2 separate regions of the Homo sapiens genome follow, and region 2 is linked to region 1. Evidence: promoter capture Hi-C in human tissues and cell types (Jung and others, 2019). All regions are on one chromosome and are shown on one strand. The core of a region is centred on a gene start or on the middle of the fragment in contact, and the rest is flanking DNA. Distances in the headings are between cores, read along the strand shown. Region 1 holds the start of NFU1 (NFU1 iron-sulfur cluster scaffold). Region 2 overlaps ANXA4 (annexin A4).

The links. The method cuts DNA at HindIII sites, captures the fragments that hold promoters and counts their contacts. A contact is called where the count stands out against the background at its distance.
Region 2: a contact is called between a fragment that was not itself captured here and the fragment with the promoter of NFU1 in region 1, in 1 of the 25 tissues and cell types used here (aorta).

What each region holds. Positions count from the first base shown.
Region 1 is chr2:69,436,105-69,438,763 of GRCh38, forward strand. NFU1 (NFU1 iron-sulfur cluster scaffold) reads right to left here and starts at 1,331. Exons shown (of 8, transcript NM_001002755.4): 1 at 1,257-1,331. The coding sequence starts at 1,318. RefSeq lists an enhancer at 1,187-1,336. The HindIII fragment of the contact is 8,312 bases long and covers 1-2,659 here.
Region 2 is chr2:69,802,244-69,804,902 of GRCh38, forward strand. ANXA4 (annexin A4) reads left to right here. Exons shown (of 13, transcript NM_001153.5): 4 at 2,290-2,384. Among named protein-coding and RNA genes, the nearest start is that of SMANTIS, 4.6 kb to the left of the region's middle. The HindIII fragment of the contact is 6,525 bases long and covers 1-2,659 here.

The sequences.
Region 1 (2,659 bases), core at 81-2,580:
TTTTTCTTGCTAGACTGCATACTCATTAAGGGGAGAAACTATCTTCATTTCTAGCTGCTAGCACAATGGCCTCAGTTCTTCATCTCTACAATGAGATTAGTTTCACAGCTACCTCATAAATAATCCAGAGAATCCATGTAAAGTGCTTAAACCAGTGCCAGGCCATGCAGTAAGTGCTCAATAAATGGCAGCTGCTACCATTATTTAATTGGTGCCCAATAATTACTAATTGAGTGCAGTTCAAGGTTTGGGGTAAAAATGCCTTTTTCTATAGCTCAGTATCTAAATCTGTGAATACTCTGGAATTTGGAAATGCACTAGAAGAATAATATTCTCGTCCCTTCAGCCCAGGGAAAAGGCAGCAGAATGAATAAAGAGGAAGCACATTCCAACATACAGGTTTAAAGTCTTGTTTTTTTAAAGTAAGAGTGGATTACATTATTCAAGGAAGACATCTACTCAAACACAGGAGGTAACTAACAAAAAATTCTACCAACTTAAATCTTTTTAGGATATACATTTAAACTTCAAGAGCACCATTAACACTACAATGTCTAATACTCTAGAGGGCAAACTCTCCGTAGGCCATTTTCTCCAGACGTAAAATTAAGGTACACCTACATAAATGTCCTCTTAGCAATGTTCACAGAAGTCTTTGAAAGGTGAAACTCAAAGGTAGGGCTCAGGGAGGCGGAAAAAACAAGGGAACAGAGTGGGCTTAATGGTGGTGGGTGCAGGGAATCTAGGGGTCCTGGTTCTCGTCGGAATTCCATCACTTAGAAACTGTGTAACCTTGGACATGTCACCTCCTCTTTCAGGGCCTTACTGGGAAAATGAGGAAACGAGACAAGGTATTTTCTTCCCTTCTGTGTGACATTCTGATTCTGCGTTTAGAAGAGGAGGGAATGCACCCGGTAGAGGGCCTGGGGGCGGGAGAGGCACACGATTTTAAAACAGCTCCTCCGTTCTGGCTCTACAGCCAGTCTCTACAAGCTTCCGTACCGCAGAGACTCAAGAACTGGGTCTCTGAGCCTGAGAGGAAGCTCCAGAGAGTCCGCCCGGATTAGGCCACAGAAGCGCCGAGCTCCCGCACAGACAGCCTCAGGGCTCACCCCCAACTACGGCGACAGGGCGGACCCGCCGGCTCCATCAGATGCACTACCCACCCGCCTCGAGAGAGGGTCTGCAAGGCGGCGACCGCTCCGCTGGCTAAGCCCAGCGGCACACCTATTCGGAGCTCCAGGCTCGTCACCTACCGCCTGCGCAGCCCGGCGGCAACAGCCGCAGCTCCCCAGCCCCGCCTGGCCGTCGCCGCCATCTTAGTCCGGAGTGCCTAAGGGTCTCCCTGACAGAACCACGAAAGATCTGCGCAGCCGCAGGCTGGCCGGTAGCTGGGCGGGCACTGGGAAGAGCCCACCCTACCGGCTGCGGGCGGTCCTGCTGCGGATAAGTGCGGTGGCCTACGCGCCGAGGTTTGCAGGCTACTGCGTCACCCTGACCAAGAGAGGCCGGGGAACCTTTCCCGTTTGCGCCAACGCTTGGTTAATTCACGCAGCACTGTGAACGCATGCGTGTTTCCGTACTTTGTTTTCCCTGTTGGCTAGGTTTTTAGCTGGTGCTGGTGCTGCCTTGCGAATGCTGTTTCCAGCCCCTAAACCTGACCCATTCCCTCCTCTAGGACCCTACTCAGCCTCCAGGCCCAGCTCAGTGACTGCCCCCAAAGACTCCCTGGAGCATTCCTTCTAAAAGGTTCTCGCATTTCTCCTGCCCTTTTCCCATGGGTCTGATGTGGAACTGTGTCTAACCCTTCCTCATAGCTGTGCTTGTCAGCTGCCACTTGGTCATCTTGGACCAACCCGCACAGAGGATGTATCTGGTACAGTGCTGCCCTTCTCCGATTAACATGAGACTTGACTAGTTTCCAGGGCAGAGTGCCAAAGCCCATTACCTATTCTTCCAGAACCTTCCTGGAGTATTCCGTTTTCTCTAGGACAACGGTTCTCAAAGTGCGGACTAGGGGCCAAAAAAAAGCAGGAGAACACGTTAGAAATGCACGTTAGAACATGTTAGAAATCCTGGGCCCCACTTTATACTTACTGAGGCACAATCTCTGTAGGTGGGGACTAGAAATCTTTGTTACTTGCTTTTTTTTTTTTTCTTTTTCCAGAGACAGGGTCTATCTCTGTTGCCCAGGCTGGAGAGCAGGAGTGCGATCATAGCTCACCAAAACCAACTCCTGGGCTCAAGTGATTCATCCTCCAGCCTCAGCCTCCCAAAGCACTGGGATTACAGGTGTGAGCCACGGTGCCTGGCTTTTATTAGCAGTAGTAGTAGTAGTATTTTTGTAGAGAAGAGGTCTCCCTGTGTTGCCTGGGCTGCTCTTGAACTCTGCTGGCCTCAAGTGATCCCTCTCACCTGGGCCTCCAAAAGCTCTTAGGTTACCTCACCCTGCCTAGTAGTGTTTTAACAAACCCTTCCCAGGATTCTGATGCCAGCTAAAATTTGAGAATCACTGTTCTGGAAGACAGAGGACTGGTTTCCAGAATGGAAACAGCACACCTGTTGTTGAACAGGTTGAGGCCACACCCAAGACAACCCTAGTAATTTCTATGGCCCACAGACACATCTAAGAGGGTGGGTGGGTTTCAGGCCTGCAGCT
Region 2 (2,659 bases), core at 77-2,576, 370 kb after region 1:
AGTTAAGAATACTAGTTAGCAGACATCTGCACTTGTCTAAGAAGAAACCCTGAAATCTTGAATTGGAATGGTTGTGATAGGAAATAAAAAGAGTGAAAGAATGCAAAAGAGGCTGTAAAGCAACATTTTGCATGACCGTGGACTTGAATGAAGAGGAAAGGAGAGGGTAAAAAAATCAAAGCTATTGGGCTGGGTGCAGTGGCTCACGCCTGTAATCCCAGCACTTTGGGAGGCCTAGGTGGGCAGAGCACAAGGTCAAAAGATCGAGACCATTCTGGCCAACAAGGTGAAACCCCGTCTCTACTAAAAACACAAAAATTAGCTGGGCGTGGTGGCGTGCACCTGTAGTCCCAGCTACTGGGGAGGCTGAGGCAGGAGAATCGCTTGAACCCGGGAGGCAGAGGTTGCAGTGAGCCGAGATGGCACCACTGCACTACAGACTGGCCACAGAGCAAGACTCTGTCTCAAAAAAAAAAAAAAAAATTGAATCTATTTTGAGGATTTCAGCTTGGCTTGACTGGGGGGAAGAGTGATCCCTTTCACAGAAACAGGGAATGAACAAAAGGTAATGAACCCTCTCTGCCCCTTCCACACCCCCTCCTAGCTGAGAGTGCCAAGGGAGAAATTGATTGTTATATGGATTGTCCTCTCCTTTTTAAAAATAGGAACACGGCTGGGCATGATGGCTCATGCCTGTAATCTCAGCACTTTGGGAGGCTGAGGCAGGTGGATCGCCTGAGGTCAGGAGTTCAAGACCAGCCTGGTCAACATGGTGAAACCCATCTCTAGTAAAAAATACAAAAAAAAATTAGCCAGGCATGGTGGCAGGCACCTGTAATCCCAGCTACTAGGGAGGCTGAGGCAGGAGAATTGCTTGAACCTGGGAGGGAGAGGGAGTGAGCTGGACTGCACTCCAGCCCGGGTGACAGAGCGAAACTCCATCTCAAAAAAAGAAAAAAAAAAAAGGAACAGAAAGTAGGTCCCCAAGGTATGTAAACTTAAAGTTCTATAGCTTCCTCTCCACACCTCACATCTTTTTGCATCTCTAACCTTGCCAAGGATAACTAAAGTTTGGCTGTATTTTTTCATTTCTCCCTGAAATATTTTCAATAGAATCATTTCTGAAACCCATTCCAACCCCCCATACAGCACAAACAACGAGGAAACAGAAGATTCACCAAACATTTATGAACAGCCAGCTGTTATAAAGACAAGGGACCAATCTGAAAAATCAGAATAAAGTCTCCTTGTTAAAGCTGCTGCAAGAAACAGGCAAGCAAAACTTAGAACATTTTTAATTTGTAATTTTTGCTTAAAGTTTTGGTAAGATGTTGTATCATGGTAATTTGTCAGCAGTTCTAAAAGGGAACCATTTGTGTTCAGGAAAGATAGCTTAGAAGTGCAAAACATAGTTCCAGATTTTAAAACACAGTGAATGCAGTAACAGCCAACTTAAACTCTGCAAAATGCCAAATTGGTGAATTAACAGACAAGTTTGAATTGTTTCAAAACTCAGAGGAGATGATAAAAAGATAAAAACAAAAAAAAAGGCAAGAATATGGAAGAGAGAGAGAGGAGATTCAAAAGACATGAAAAGAATTCTAGAGGAGATGGCTGGGCGTGGTGTCTCACACATGTAACCCCAGCACTTTGGGAGGCCGAGGAGGGCAGATCATTTGAGGTCAGGAGCTCAAGACCAGCCTGGTCAACATAGTGAAACCCTGTCTCTACTAAAAACACAAAAATTCGCTGGGGGTGGTGGCACAGCCCTGTAATCCCAGCTACTCAGGAGGCTGAGGCAGGAGAATCGCTTGAACCCAGGAGGCGGAGGTTGCAGTGAGCTGAGATCGCGCCATTGCACTCCAGCCTGGGTGACAGAGTGAGACTTTCTCTCAAAAAAAAAAAAAAAAAAAAAATATTCTAGAGGAGAGAAAAAATTACTCCAGCCAACATTTATTAAATGTTTAGTAAGTGCTAGGCATTTAATTATATTAACACTTGCAGCAGCCTATCGAGGGAAATCACTGTCATCATTCACATTTGCAGATAAGGAAACTAATGTTTAGAAAGTTAACCATTTTCTTCAGTAGTAAACAGCTAATTAAAGGAGAGGCTAAGTCCCGAACCTAGCATCTGTTTCCCAAAAAGTAGACAAACCCTCTGAATAAGGGCCTCTTTTCTTAGAAAGCCCTCTGCATGTGTTTGGGTAACTCCAATGTCCACAGAGGAACCTGCTTTCTCATTCCTCTCTCAAATCACACTTACCTGCTGTCTCCCTTCTTCCCCCAGGCACCGATGAAGACGCCATTATTAGCGTCCTTGCCTACCGCAACACCGCCCAGCGCCAGGAGATCAGGACAGCCTACAAGAGCACCATCGGCAGGGTAGGCCACAGTCTTTCCTGCTCTGTCTGGCTGACTTCGCAGCAACAGGAAGCAGGGCCTCTTCCTGATCTAGGTTCCCGAAGTGACCTTGTGTTTTAAAAGATCGATCCTTTGTCTTGTTTAAAGATGTTCTTGAGGCCAGGTGTGGTGGGTCACACCTGTAATCCCAGCACTTTGGGAGACCGAGGTGGGTGGATCACTTGAGGCCAGGAGTTTGAGACCAACCTGGCCAACATGGTGAAACCCCATCTCTCCTTAAAAAATACAAAAATTAG